2 separate regions of the Homo sapiens genome follow, and region 1 is linked to region 2. Evidence: promoter capture Hi-C in 16 types of primary human blood cells and fetal thymus (Javierre and others, 2016). All regions are on one chromosome and are shown on one strand. Each heading gives the region's core, a stretch centred on a gene start or on the middle of the fragment in contact. The rest is flanking DNA. Distances are from core to core; before and after follow the strand shown. Region 1 overlaps MSH3 (mutS homolog 3). Region 2 holds the start of FAM151B (family with sequence similarity 151 member B).

Region 1 (6,914 bases), core at 554-3,053, 210 kb after region 2:
AAGGTAAAGGGGAATGACTGAAGTTAAGGAAACATGTTGGAGCAATTGTAAAGGCAATGTGTGTCACATTTTCTGCCACTTGTCATTTAGATTGTGTAAGCTAAATCTAGTATAAGTGGGACCATTGTTTGAATGAAAAAAAATCCAAACTTGAGATGTAGAGAAATATAGATGAATTTGAAGCCCAGAAAGGACATTTAAGCTCTCTTAAGATGAGTTACTCCATTTTTTATAGTAGCTCACCTTTTTAAAGGTATTTTATCCTGCTGTCAAGTTTATTTTATTAAATTGGATACCAGGAAATTCTAATTGATTTTTTTATATCAAACAAATCGATGTTATTTATTTATTTTTGAGACGGGGTCTCACTCTTCCTCAGGCTGGAGTATGGTGGCACCATCGTGGTTCACTGTAGCCTTGACCCCCCAGGCTCAAGCAATCCTCCCACCTCAACCTCCTGAGTAGCTGGGACTGCAGGTGTGCTCAACCACACCCAGCTAATTTTTTTTGTAGAGATGAGGCCTCTCTATGTCTTCTATACTGGTTTTAAACTCCTGGGCTCAAGCAATCCACCCACCTTGGCCTCCCCAAAATGTTGGAATTACAAGCGTGGACCATTGCGCCTGGCCAAAATCTGCATTTTGATGGATGTTTCCAGTAGATTCTCAAGTTGTTGATACATCTTCTAAGTTGAACATTATTATACAGTCATTCATTTATTCATCCTTAAACACAGTTATTGAGTGGCTGCTGTGCGCCAGCTTTGTTACTAGGTGGCAAGGATACAGAAATGAGAAAGATCCCTCCTTTCCAAGTTCTTATAGTCTAGAGGGGAGGTAGTCATGGAAATAATTGTAATGAAAGCGCTGGTTGAAAATATCTTAGAGTTACTGGCAGCCCTTGAGCATCATGCTAGTTTGCTAGAGGGGTGTGTTAGAATTGAGACTGGAAGAATGAATGCCAGTCAGGTGGAGGTGTGAGAGAGCGTGCTTTTCTTAGGAAGCAGAAACTAGTTTGGCTGGGTTACTCTGCCAGCATGAGCAGGCAACCTGAGGCAGGACAGACGTGTTTTGGAGAGAAAGGGTGTATAAAGCTGGAAACCATCATTCTCAGCAAACTGTCGCAAGGACAAAAAACCAAACACCGCATGTTCTCACTCATAGGTGGGAATTGAACAATGAGAACACTTGGACACAGGAAGGGGAACCTCACACACCGGGGGGCCTGTTGTGGGGTGGTGGGGGGGACGGATAGCATTAGGAGATATACCTAATGTAAATGACAAGTTAATGGGTGCAGCATACCAACATGGCACATGTATACATATGTAACAAACCTGCACGTTGTGCACATGTACCCTAGAACTTAAAGTATAATAAAAATATACAAATAAATAAAAAATAAAAAGAGAATCAAGAGTGAAACGGTGGAGTGAGAAAGCGGCATTACACAGGGCCTGGATAAAGAGTTTCCTGTGACAGAGACTGAGCTGAGATGGCTGGTGATGGGGACCGTAGCCTAGTGACCCTTTGTGTACCCAGCACCTATCAAAGTAGCTCACACATAATAGGTGCTTAATAAATGCTTGGTAAATGAATGATTAAATAAGTGATGTTTAGAATAAAGAGAATAATGGGTATCTCCTATTTGTTTTTCTTAACAAAACTGATTTGGGTTTTTTAAACATAGAAGGGTTGTTGTAAGGCTGGGCGTGGTGGCTCATACCTGTAATCCCAGCACTATGGGAGGACGAGATGGGTGGATCACCTGAGGTCAGGAGTTCCAGACCAGCCTGGCCAACATGGTGAAACCCCACCTCTACTAAAGGTACAAAAATTAGTTGGGTGTGGTGTCAGCACCTGTAATCCTAGCTACTTGGGAGGCTGAGGCAGGAGAATGGCTTGAACCCGGGAGGTGGAGGTTGCAGTGATTCAAGATTGCACCACTGCACTCCAGCCTGGGCAACAGAGTACAACACTGTCTCCAAAAAAAAAAAAAAAAAAAAAAAGGTTGTTGGAGTAGCTGGAAATCTATACATTAACATATATGGTAATCAATGTCTATTTACATTATATAGATTTACATTATACAGATGTAGCCAATTCATTTACTCTTTTGGAAAGATCATATTGATTTCTTATCGTTTTTTCCCCATTATGTTTATTTCTTTAAAAAATTTTTTAATATCACTGTAAATTGATTGAAGCATCCTGACATTTCCATAGATATTCCTTTACAGCAAATATTAATGGGATCTACATGGCTAAGTTACTGTTTAAAGATTGATATTGATGATAACTAGGCACTAGCCTCCCCTCTGGCGCTTGAAACCTTTTCTGTTGTGGTATTCGTAGGAAATCTCTTTTTTTCTTTATATTTTGTCTTCCCCATTTTCCTCATTCCTCTTTTCGAGAGCAGAAGATAAATATAAAGTTGACTACTTTGTCATTCTGTTTCATTATGTTTATTAGACGGTAGTTTCACTTAACTATTTAGATAATCTAGAATTAGAAAATAAATTGTGGGCCTGGCAGGGTGGCTCATGCCTAAAATCCGAGCACTTTGGGAGGCTGAGGCGGGTGGATCACTTGAGGTCCGGAGTTCAAGGTCAGCCTGGCCAACATGGTGAAACCTCATCTCTACTAAAAATACAAAAAATTAGCTGGGCATGATGGCACGTGCCTGTAATCCCACCTTCTCAGGAGGCTGAGGCAGGAGAATTGTTCGAACCTGGGAGGCAGAGGTTGCAGTGAGTCGAGATCTCCCCACTGCACTCCAGTCTGGGCGACAGAACAAATCAATTCTGGTAGTAGAGATGGTAGTGACTAAATGGAAGAAATAAATCTCATATGCTGTAGGAAAATGTTTGCCACTGGGAAACCATTTAAAGAGGAAGTGTTATTAGTATTAAAAAATCTGTCATTTTGAAATTTCTTTTTAAAAATTACATTAATTTCTTCCCTGGTGGTAATGCCATTGTATTTTCAGTAGGTTTTTTTTTTAGTCCTGATACTTTTTGTATATCTAGCTAGCAATTTTAATGGATGTGCTTAACTCATGAAAATCCAGATTTTAAAACATGATAAGTTAATAGGTGATAGTTATTTTATAAGAACATTTGCCATGAGTTTATTTAAAGAATGAGAGCTTCTTTGTGCATTTTCATCAAGTGCATTCTCCTCAGGAATATATCTCCTTGAAAAGAAAAAATGGGGTGTATTTGCAGTAGGTTTATTGATAGTCGAATAGGAAGAAACAGCATTTGAGAAGTGTGGAGAAAAGATCTTCCTGATTACTACAGAGACCTCCTAAAGTGGGGCCAGACTGCTTGAACAGAAAGTTTGGAAGCAATTGTGTGAGGTGTGCTGCATTTGTTTTACTAATTCGACTTGATTTTTGTAAATACACCTGTTCATTTGGGTTTGAGGATTTAATTGCATAAAGACTCTTTATTTAGCTAAAGCGTCTTGTCCTCATGGCTTTTCCCAGAAGTTTGTGTTATAAATGTTAATATATTAAAAGTGCTTTTAAATGATTTATTATTAGCATCTTAAAAAAATCCTACACTAAATATTAAAGTAGTCTTTATTATTTCAGGTGAAGGCAAAGGGAAACAGTACGAGTTGCAAGGTAGGGGGTAAATGGAAAGGAAGAAAAAGGAAAGACAGGAGATGAAGGGAAAGATTGAGTCCCATCATTCTTGAAGACACATTGTTCATGGCTTCAATAACCCTGGCACAGCCCTCTGAAGAAAGTGTAGTTATCCTCTTCTTTCTGCAAGGAGGCAGAGATGCTGTGAACCTCTCTTGAAGTTACAGGATCACTTAGGTAGTAAGTGGCAAAGCCCACTAGAGCCCTAACCCTGTTTGATACTGGTGAGTTCACCTGCTATCATTAAGGTGTAACCTGACAGCAATGTAAAAGACAAAAATCCCCCTTCACTGAACTCCAAATACAGTTACTGTCTGTCCTCAGGATCTCTTTATTTTTTTCTTCTCCTTTTCATGGTTCAAGGAGAGATCCCTTTTAATCTCTTCCCTTCCAGCAAAGCTTCCTTTCACTTTCTACCTGAAGTCAAAAACTTGAGGCCAGCTTAGTTCAGAGCTCCTCTGGGCTTGCTTATCTCCCAGCCTTTGTGGACTCCTTCTTGTCCATTTGTCTTTGTAATGACTTCTTCCTGTCGAACCTCCCTGCTGAAGGGAGACTTCTTACTAATTTCTCTTATTTTCCCTGCTTGCTTGCTTTGAGATTATTTTCTTATCTCTTGTTTTCAGGCCAGGAATTTCTTCCTCCTGCCAGCTTTTTTGTGAATCCTTTTTAACCTCTGGCCCAAGTCTTGATCCCTAAAGCAGTAAAAGCCTATGGAGGCCTGGTATGGTTTTTCTGTACAGTTTTTCCTCCCTCCCTTCTTTTTCTACCCTTCTTTCTGAAAAAACAACAGAAACAAAAAAAACCCAAAAACCCTCTGATACTTGATTTTGTATCAATAATCAATATACATTAATATAAAATTTATTAATATAAATTGACTTAATATACACAATACTGAGTTTTTTCCAGGCTTTTGTGGAAGCTCCCCACTGCAGTCCAGAATGCTCCGTGACCAGGTCCTAGGATTCTTTCCCTTGGTGCCATTGTGACTGCTCCCTTATTTTATACCTTCAGCTCTGTCCAGTTCTCTTCTTGGCCTGGCTGAGCTGGGCTCTGCACCTCATGGGAGTGGACATGAATCCTGAACACACCATGTGGGTGTACTGGGTTGTCCCCAACCTTAATGTGAAGGCAAGTTTAGAGAAGAATGCATGATGAGTGGGCTTGCATGCCTCCCTGATGGCCATATGGGAGCATGACCACACCACAGGGTTAGTCCTTACCTGGTGGGAGCCACTGGGAGCAGAGGAGTGCTAGGTATCGCATGGCATATTTAAGATAGTTTGTGTCCAGCCATGACATTTCAAGTGCTCATTAACTGCATGTGGTTAGTAGCTACTGTATAAGGCAATGTAGTTTTATAGACAGTAGCACAGCTGTATGCAAGAGATGGGCCTAGAAAGACAGGTAACACTTAACTAGACAGATTTGGGGGAAAATACATTCCTCAATGAAAGCAAAGTTTAAACAAGGTTGAAATAATTTATTTAAAAAAAAAAATAGCTGGCTGGGTGCAGTGGCTCACGCCTGTAATCCCAGTACTTTGGGAGGCTGAGGAAGGTGGATCGCTTGAGCTCAGGAGTTTGAGACCAGCCTGGGCATCATGGTAAATCCCTGTCTTTACTAAACATACAAAAATTAGCTGCGCATGATGGCAAGCAGCTGTAGTCCCAGCTAATTGGGAGGCTGAGGCAGGAGAATCACTTGAACCCGGGTGGCTGAGGTGGCAGTGAGCCGAGATCATGCCACTGCACTCCTCCCTGGGCGACAGAGCGAGACAAGCAACAGCAACAAAACAAAAATAAAAACAGCTAATGAAGTTCTTATTATGTACCTGGTACATTCTGCCATTACTGAAATTAACTGATGTCATCTTCACAACAATCCTTTGAGGTGATTACAATTATTATTTAATATGTCCATAATAAATGACAGGTTTAGGAATGTACATTTGAATTGTGGTTCTGACTGAAACATTGGGCAGTTGAGGAAGTACTTGATAAAGTGATTAGTGCCCTTTTTAAGTGTGAGCAATTTCTAGTTGCTAAGTCAGGGTATCATTTATGTATGAATTACCTTATAGGTAAGTATACTTTACATTCTTTTATGTAACTCCTAACTATCAACCTCCAGATATCACAAAGTTTACTTGTGGGTGATTAAATTGCTTAAGACAAGAGATTGCCCACCCATACAGAATTTCTATTGCTTCTGCCTTCCAGAGAACAGTGGGAGCAGCCTGGCCTGCAGGTTGATTGTCAGATTCTGCCTCCCTCCCACCTACTTATTCCTCCAGAGAGACACATAGCTTAGCCTCCTGTCACACTCTGTCATTTTCCTGGGGCTGCAGAGCAAAGGGCTCCCTCAGGTTAATTCTGAAGTCCTGTGTATGCTGAAGTCTGCTTGAAGAAGGAGAGAAGCTTCCATCTTGCATATTTCCTAATACTTTATCTTTCCTTCTGTAACAACAGTGCACAGATTTTACTTCAGGAATGTGTTTTTATTCACTCCTGCTGTTATCCTGTATACTAAAGTAGTCCTTTGTCAATGTGCTGATGTGCTCTAGAAACATATAAAGAGTTTTTTTTTTAATTGGTTTGTTGACTGGACGTAAACACTAGTATAACACTAAATCTAAGTGCAGAGAGTGGGCAGCCTGATTTTGTTCATAATCTCAGGGGAATCTTTTATAATGGGCCAGGAAGCACGTGTCTGTGGTTTCTGCATAGGGCGTGTTCTGTGGTGCCCAGCCAGCTGTAGTATGTCCTGCGAGATTTGGCCTGCAGGCCACAATGGTGGGCTTCTGGGAGGAAGAATCTTCCTTAGAAGTCCTGCCCTTTGACACTCCTTCTGCTGAAGTGTCCTGATCTCAGTGGGGCTCCCTGATTTTCTGTTCCGGGGTCTATCAGCACTGGGTCTATCAGTGCTACCCACGCCGCCGTGACTGTGGGTCACTGAGGGTGACCTGCGTGGGTCCCATGGGCTCAGCCTGGCCTTCCCAGGTCCTACAAGGTCCTCCTTACTGTCCGTCCCTGCTCAGTCACCAAAGAATGACTTTTTTGAAAGTACAATTCCAGAGTTAAATACTGGCTAAGTGTAGAAAACAATACTGGAATTCAGTCTTCACCTCCACCAGTCCTCATGGTGAGATGAAGTGTTTATGGGTTTCTTTGTTGTAACCTCAAAAGTGGAATGCATTTCCTGGTTGGTGCTGCTTGCCCTCCAGGTGCTTAGTGAGTGAAGCTTCATCTTCCAGATTTCTC
Region 2 (7,103 bases), core at 3,684-6,183:
CTGAAATAAAGACATTGTCAGAAGAAGGAAAGCTAAAATAATTCATTGCTAGTAGTCCTCCTTTAACAGAAATGGTAAAGGAAGTTCATGGGGAAGGAAAATGATTGCAAAGAAGGAAGAGCAACCAAAATGGCAAATCTCTGGATAAACCAAATAGACTTACATGTTTGTTAAAATATATGTAACTGCTGAAATAAAAAAATTGTAACATCATCTTTTGGGATTTTCAATGCATATAGATGTAATACAGATGAAAACTGCATACTAACCAAGGGGACAGTGACAGAACCTATATGGTAAGTTTTCTAAATTTCACTTAAAGTGGTAAAACATTATAGTAGGTTACAAAAAGTTTGGTATGTAATGATCATCTCTAGAGCAACCATTTTAAAAAACTATGCAAGGAGATATGTTTAAAAAGCCGACATATAAAGTGGAATTTTAAATAATTCAAAATAAAGCCAGCAAGGAAAACAAGTGTAAAAGAAATAAGGGATCAACAAGAAAAATTAATGCTAAAATGGTAGACCTAAATCCAGCTGTATCAAAAATTACACTAGGCCAGGTGTGGTGGCTAATGCCCATAATCCCAACACTTTAGGAGGCTGAAGCAGGAAGATCACTTGAGGCCAGGAGTTCAAGATCAGACTGGGCAATGTAGTGAGGCCCCGTATCTACATAAAACTTAAAAGAATTAGCCAACCATGGTAGTGCATGCCTATAGTCCTGGCTACTCAGGAGGCTGAGGTGGGAGATCATTTGAGCCCAGTAGTTTGAGGCTGCAGTGAGCTGTGATCATACCGCTGTACTCCAGCCTGGGCCACTGAGCAAGACCCTGTCCCTAAAAATAAAAATAAATAACAATTACATTAAATGTAAATGGTCTAAATATGGCAATTGATTTTTTTTTTTTTTTTTGGATCAAGTCTCATTTATTCTGTCACCCAGGCTGGAGTGCAGTGGCACAATCCCGGCTCACTGTAACCTCCACCTCCCAGGTTCAAGTGATTCTCCTGCTTCAGCCTCCTGAGTAGCTGGGATTACAGGCATGTCCACATCTGGCTAATTTTTTCTTTGTTTTTATTAGAGATGGAGTTTCACCATTTTGTCCAGGATAGTCTTGAACTCCTGTCCTCAACTGATCTGCCTGTCTTGGCCTCCCAAAGGACTGGAATTACAGGCATGAGCCACCATGCCTGGCCAGATGGATTTTTTTAAAACCTAATTTATATGCTATCTATACAAGCCACTTATGATACAATGGTACATGCAGGTTAAAAAGTAAAAGGATGGAAAAAGATATTCCATGCAAACACTAAAAAGAAGAAGAAAAGGACAAAGCTGGAGTGGTTATTTTGCTATCAGACAAAGCAAACTTCAGAACAAGGAATATTACCCTGTAATTTATTTTTAAATTTATTTATTTATTTATTTATTTATGAGACAGGGTCTCATTGTATTGCCCAGGCCTAGGGTGCAGTGGCTATTCACAGGCACAGTCATGGCACACTACAGCCTTGAACTTAGGCTCTTAACCCATCCTCCTGCCTCAGCCTCCTGGGTAGCTGAGCCTACAAGTGCGTGCCACTGCACCCAGTTCCCCTGTGATTTATTATTGCATTTCATAGACTAGATACCAAGTTCAGAGAGAGAGTAATCTGTCCAAAGTCACACAGCTAGAAACTAAATTGGAATTTGAGGGAAAACTTTCTAGCTATTAGGACTCTGAAAATGAGGTAAGCTGTATTCATGCAGTGCTTTGTTTTGATTTTGAGACAGAGTCTCACTCTGCGGCCCAGGTGGAATGCAGTGGTGTGATCATGGCTCACTGCAGCCTTGAGTTCCTGGGCTCAAGCAATCCTCCCACCTTAGCCTCCTGATTAGCTGATACTACAGGCACATGCCGACACACCTGGCTTGTTTTTTATTTTTTCGTAGAGATGGGTCTCACTATGTTGTCCAGGCTGGTCTCAAAGTCCTGGTCTCCTCCTGCCTCAGCCTCCCAAAGTACTGGGATTACATGTGTGAGCCACCATGCCTGGCCTTTATTCATGTTTAGATGTCACCAAAAGCAGCCCCAGACTCAAGTTGGGGCCTGTGTCTCACATTCTAATCGTTATATTCTTTCCCCAGTGCAGCATGTACCCTTAACTTACAAAACCTTTTTTGTGCCAAAAAAGTAATTAGACTTATTTTTACCATAAAATTTCCAAACACTCAGAAGTAAAGGAAATAGTAGGATGAAAATCTATATACCCAGCCTACAACAATCCTCTGAGTCAACACTATCAAGACTTACCTCTTTTGCTTCATCCATCCCTTAATTTCTTTGCTGGAGCATTTTAAAGCAAATATCAGACATACCCTTTCACGCCTCACACTTCAACATGCGGCTCTAAAAATAAGGACAGTGAAGAGGAATTTTGAGTCAGTTATTGTAAAATATATGAAAATATTGTAATATTGTGACCAATATGTCATAAAAACTTAGCAAACTGATGCAGGAACAGAAACCAAATACTGCATGCTGTTACTTATAAGTGGGAGCTAAATGATGAGACACATGGACACAGAGTGGGGAACAACACACTGGGACTTTTGGAGGGTGGAGGGTGGGAGGAGGGAGAGCAGGAGAAACAATGAATGGGTACTAGGATTAATACCTGGGTGATGAAACAACCTGTACAACAAACCCCTATGATACAGTTTACCTGTGTAACAAACCTGCACTTGGACCCCTGAAGTTAAAAATTTTAAAAATGAAAAAAAAAAAAAGCCGGGCACAGTGGCTCACGCCTGTAATCCCAGCACTTTGGGAGGCTGAGGCGGGTGGATCACTTGAGGTCAGAAGTTCGAGACCAGCCTGGCCAACATGGTGAAATCCTGTCTCTACTAAAAATACAAAAATTAGCCAGGCGTGGTGGTGCGTGCTTGTAATCCCAGCTACTCAGGAGGCTGAGGCAGGAGAATCGCTTGAACCCGGGAGGTGGAGGTTGCAGTGAGCCGAGATCGTGCCACTGCACTCCAGCCTGGGGGAACAGAGTGAGACTTCATCTAAAAAAAAAGAAAAACAAGTTTTTTAAAAAAGACCTGTACTGCAATCAATGCCATCAAGAAAGTGAAAAGACAATCTGCACAACGGGAGAAAATATTGCAAATATTTGCAAATTACCTGTTAAGGGACTTGTATTGAGACTATATAAAGAATTCTCACAATTGAAATGAGCACAGGATTTGAGAAGACATTTCTCCAAAGGAAATATATAAATGACCGATAGCACCTGAAAATATGCTCAATATTATTAGTAGGGAACTACAAATCAAGATAATGAGGTAGTACTTCATATCTACTAGGATGGCTATAATTTAAAAAACATAACAACAAGTACTGACTGGTAAGGATGTGGGGAAATTGGAATCTTCATACATTGCTGGTGGGAATGAAAGATGGTACAGCTGATTTGCAAAACTGGCAGTTCCTCACACAGTTAAACAGTTACTATATGAACAAGTAGTTCCACTCCTAGGTATGTACACAGATATGCACACAGGAATGTATTCATATACGTCCACACAAAACTTGTCCATGAATGTTCACAGCAGCAGCATTCATAAAAGACAAAATGTAGAAACAACCCGAATGTCCTTCAGCTGTTGAATGGACACACATAAAATGTGGTATTTACAAACTGGAATTTATTCCAGCATAAGAAGGAAGGAAGTACTGATACATGCTAAAACATGGGTGAATTTTGAAAACATGCTAAGTGAAAGAAGCCAGTTACAAAGATCATACATACAGTCTGTGATTCTATTTACATGAAATTCCAGAATAGGCAAATTCATGAGACAGAAAGTAGATGAGTTGTTGCCTGGGGGTAGGAAGGGGGTAAATGGAGAGTGATTGCTTTGGAGTGATGAAAAATATTTTATCTGAAAGGCTGGGCAAGAATAACTCCCCTTTGTATTACGTGTCAGGTGATGTTAGTTATCCTAACTCTACCACTGGCAGATTGAGTTTTTTGGTCACAGAAGCTGAAAATGGCAGAGCTTTGTTGTTAATTCTGATCACTAGTTTGGCTTCAAAAAGTAATGAGTTAAGGAGGGCTAGAAAGACAGTGGATGGGAGGACCCAGTTGCTGAGAGCGTTTTCTGAGTGAACACTGGTAGAGAGACAGAAGGGGAGAGAAAACTTCAAGTTATCAGCTCGGTAACTTTGTACAAAAACTTATTTATTTATTTATTTATTTATTTGACAGTCTAGCTCTATCGCACAGACCGGAGCGCAGTGGAGCGATCTCGGCTCTCTGCAACCTCCACCTCTCCGGTTCAAGCCATTCTTGTGCCTCAGCCTCCCGAGTAGCTGGGATTACAGGCGCGCGCCACCACGCCAGGATAATTTTTTAAATTTTCAGTAAGGACGGGTTTTAACCATGTTGGCCAGGATGGTCTCGAATTCCTGACCTCAAGTGATCCGCCCACCTCGACCTCCCAAAGTGCTGGGAGTACAGGCCTGAGCCACCGTGCCCGGCCAGAAACACTGATTTTTATCAGTAATGATTCCACACCCTTTTAGGATATTACTAACATTTAAAAGAAAATATACCCAACTGTTGAAATTCGTGCTCCACTCCAGCAACTGCTTTCAATCGGAGTTCCATCCTCCGCCGCAGTATGCCCTAACGCAGCGTTATCTTCAGAGCTACCACCAGCTTCCGAAACCTTTCGGAGGAGCGCTTCGCCACCACCTGCACGGCGAAGCGGCGCGTAAACGAACCTCGAACGCCAGCCTTTGCGCCTGCGTGCCGCGGCTCCGTTTGGTTCCGCTTCGCTGGCGCCCGCCGGGCTCTTCCCCCGCCGAGGCCTGTGGTTTGTGGAGTCGAATTTCCCTGCCACCAGTGCCCGGTTAGCAGGGGCGCCAGCCTGGGCGCCTGCGCGGACGGCGGGCGTCGTCACCATGGCAGCATCCGCTGGAGGCCCAGGTAAGCGCCGAGCGCGCGGCCTCTGCCTGGAGGTGGGGCGCTTTGAGAGGCTCCGCCGGCCGTACCCTCCCTTTGCGGGCTCCCGCGGTCTTCCTTGCTAGGGACCTGGGAGCGCGCCGCGCAGAACCGGGCGGCTGGGCTTGGAGCCCGCTCTGCACTCGGGGCGCGCCCGCGATCGCCTGGCAAGGACCTTGGTTTGCCGGGTGGGCTCTAAGGGACAGGCGTTAGGGGAGGTCGAGAATGGCAGGGTCAGTGTCTTTTGAGGTCTGGGTTGGAAAGAAAGGAATGTGACGTTTCCCTAATCCTTAATTTCAGCCGACCGTATGGGGGCGGTCTGGGTCAGTAGGTTCCTCTTTGAAAGCTGGGGGAGGTTTGGGAATGCGGACTGGGCCGGGCCCGGCATAGTCCCGCTGCTGAGCGCGCTGCCTGGAAAGCTGGCAGAGTGTGCGGCTCGCTTGATTCCCCTTGGAATCAGGTGCTTCAACTCGCGGGACAGCAGTTCCGCTCTTGAAGGTTACAGTATCTTTTCTGTAAACTTAAGTAGTGGCATGAGACAACGTCAGTGACGCGTTCTTTCTTCAGTTTAGATTTTTTTCCCTAATTGTAAAAATAATACACGCTTTCACCATTCTGACTAGCAGGCTGTATAAATACAGGTTCTCTTCTGAATCGATGCACAGTTTACAGAATCTTGGAATAAAATGTGTGTGTAAGCGAAAAATGTCCAGGTCCTGATAAATGCCATTATAGAACATTTATAAAGTATATTAGTATAGGGAAATAGGAAAAAAAAATCCCCCAAATGCTGATACCCACAGGCACCACTACTAACTTTTTGGTATTTTCTAACAACCCTGACTCTTAAAAATAGAGTTAAGGTCATGGTAAACATAATTTTTAAAATCCTGCATCTTATACTATCCCATGTCACCAAGGTTTTTATAAACATAATTTTGAATGACTGAAGTGTTTTATACAATTATATTGTATACAATTATATTGTAATTAACCAGTCTCCTAATGTTGAACGTTAATCAGTCGTTTCCTGTTTTGTTTTGTTTTGTTAGAATTCATTCTGTAATGAACATTTTTGCATTGTTCTTCCTCAGTTATGTTTTTGGTTTGTTTTTATCCTGGACACGATTCTTGTAACTGAAATTACTGGATCAAAGGATGTGAACTTTTTTCTCTCTCTCTTTTTTAAGATCTGTGCTAAACCTCCGTAGAACATTTTTTCAGACCAGAGTTTTCCTTTTTTAACCCTTGTGCTCTTCTCAGTATAAATCCTTTTAATGCCTAGTTTTCCTAAGAATCCAAACAAATCTGGGACAAAGCTCACACTCAAGACTTACACCATTCTCACTCACAGGCTGTATAAATCCAGATTCTCTTCTGAATCGATGCAAGGTTTACAAAATCTTGGAATAAAATGTGTGCACAAGTGAAAAATGTCCAATTGCTGACAAATGCCATTTTTTAAAAAACAAATTTTTGGGCCGGGCGCGGTGACTCACGCCCGTAATCCCAGCACTTTGGGAGGCCGAGGTGGGCGGATCACGAGGTCAGGAGATCAAGACCATCCTGGCTAACACAGTGAAACCTCGTCTCTACTAAAAATCCAAAATAATTAGCCGGGCGTGGTGGCGGCGCCTGTAGTCTCAACTACTAAGGAGGCTGAGGCAGCAGAATGGCGTGAACCCGGGAGGCGGAGCTTGCGGTGAGCCAAGATTGCGCCACTGCACTCCAGCCTGAGCAACAGAGAGAAACTGTCTCAAAACAAAAACAAAAACAAAAATTTCTTCTCATTACCGAGTTATTGATAAAACTAATTCTTAACCAGATTCTTCCGTTATATGTCATTTTTCCCCCTTACACACACACACACACACACACACACACACACATTCTCAACATAAAAAAGTTCAAAAGGCACAATAGGATGTATAGTGAAAAGTTCCGTCCTGGCCGGGCGTGGTGGTTTACGCCTGTAATCTGAACACTTTGAAAGGCAGGAGGATCGCTTGAGCCCTGGAGTTTGGATCAGCCTGGGCAACACAGGGAGGCCTTATCTCTCCAAAAGAAAACAAATAAATTAGCCAGGTATGGTGGTGGCACATACCT

What was found. Contacts are between HindIII fragments. The CHiCAGO score rates a contact against its expected background, and 5 or more counts as called.
Region 1: a contact is called between a fragment that was not itself captured here and the fragment with the promoter of FAM151B in region 2, in 1 of 17 cell types (neutrophils). The highest score is 5.4, in neutrophils.

The regions. Positions count from the first base shown.
Region 1 is chr5:80,697,574-80,704,487 of GRCh38, forward strand. All of the region lies in intron 8 of MSH3 (mutS homolog 3), which reads left to right. Among named protein-coding and RNA genes, the nearest start is that of DHFR, 46 kb to the left of the region's middle. The HindIII fragment of the contact is 4,490 bases long and covers 1-4,048 here.
Region 2 is chr5:80,483,167-80,490,269 of GRCh38, forward strand. FAM151B (family with sequence similarity 151 member B) reads left to right here and starts at 4,934. Exons shown (of 6, transcript NM_205548.3): 1 at 4,934-4,982. The coding sequence starts at 4,958. FAM151B-DT (FAM151B divergent transcript) reads right to left here and starts at 4,780. Exons shown (of 3, transcript NR_172938.1): 1 at 4,612-4,780; 2 at 2,300-2,395. ZFYVE16 (zinc finger FYVE-type containing 16) reads left to right here. Exons shown (of 19, transcript NM_001284236.3): 19 at 1-213. RefSeq lists enhancers at 4,538-5,039, 5,040-5,539 and a silencer at 5,204-5,498. The HindIII fragment of the contact is 15,498 bases long and covers 1-7,103 here.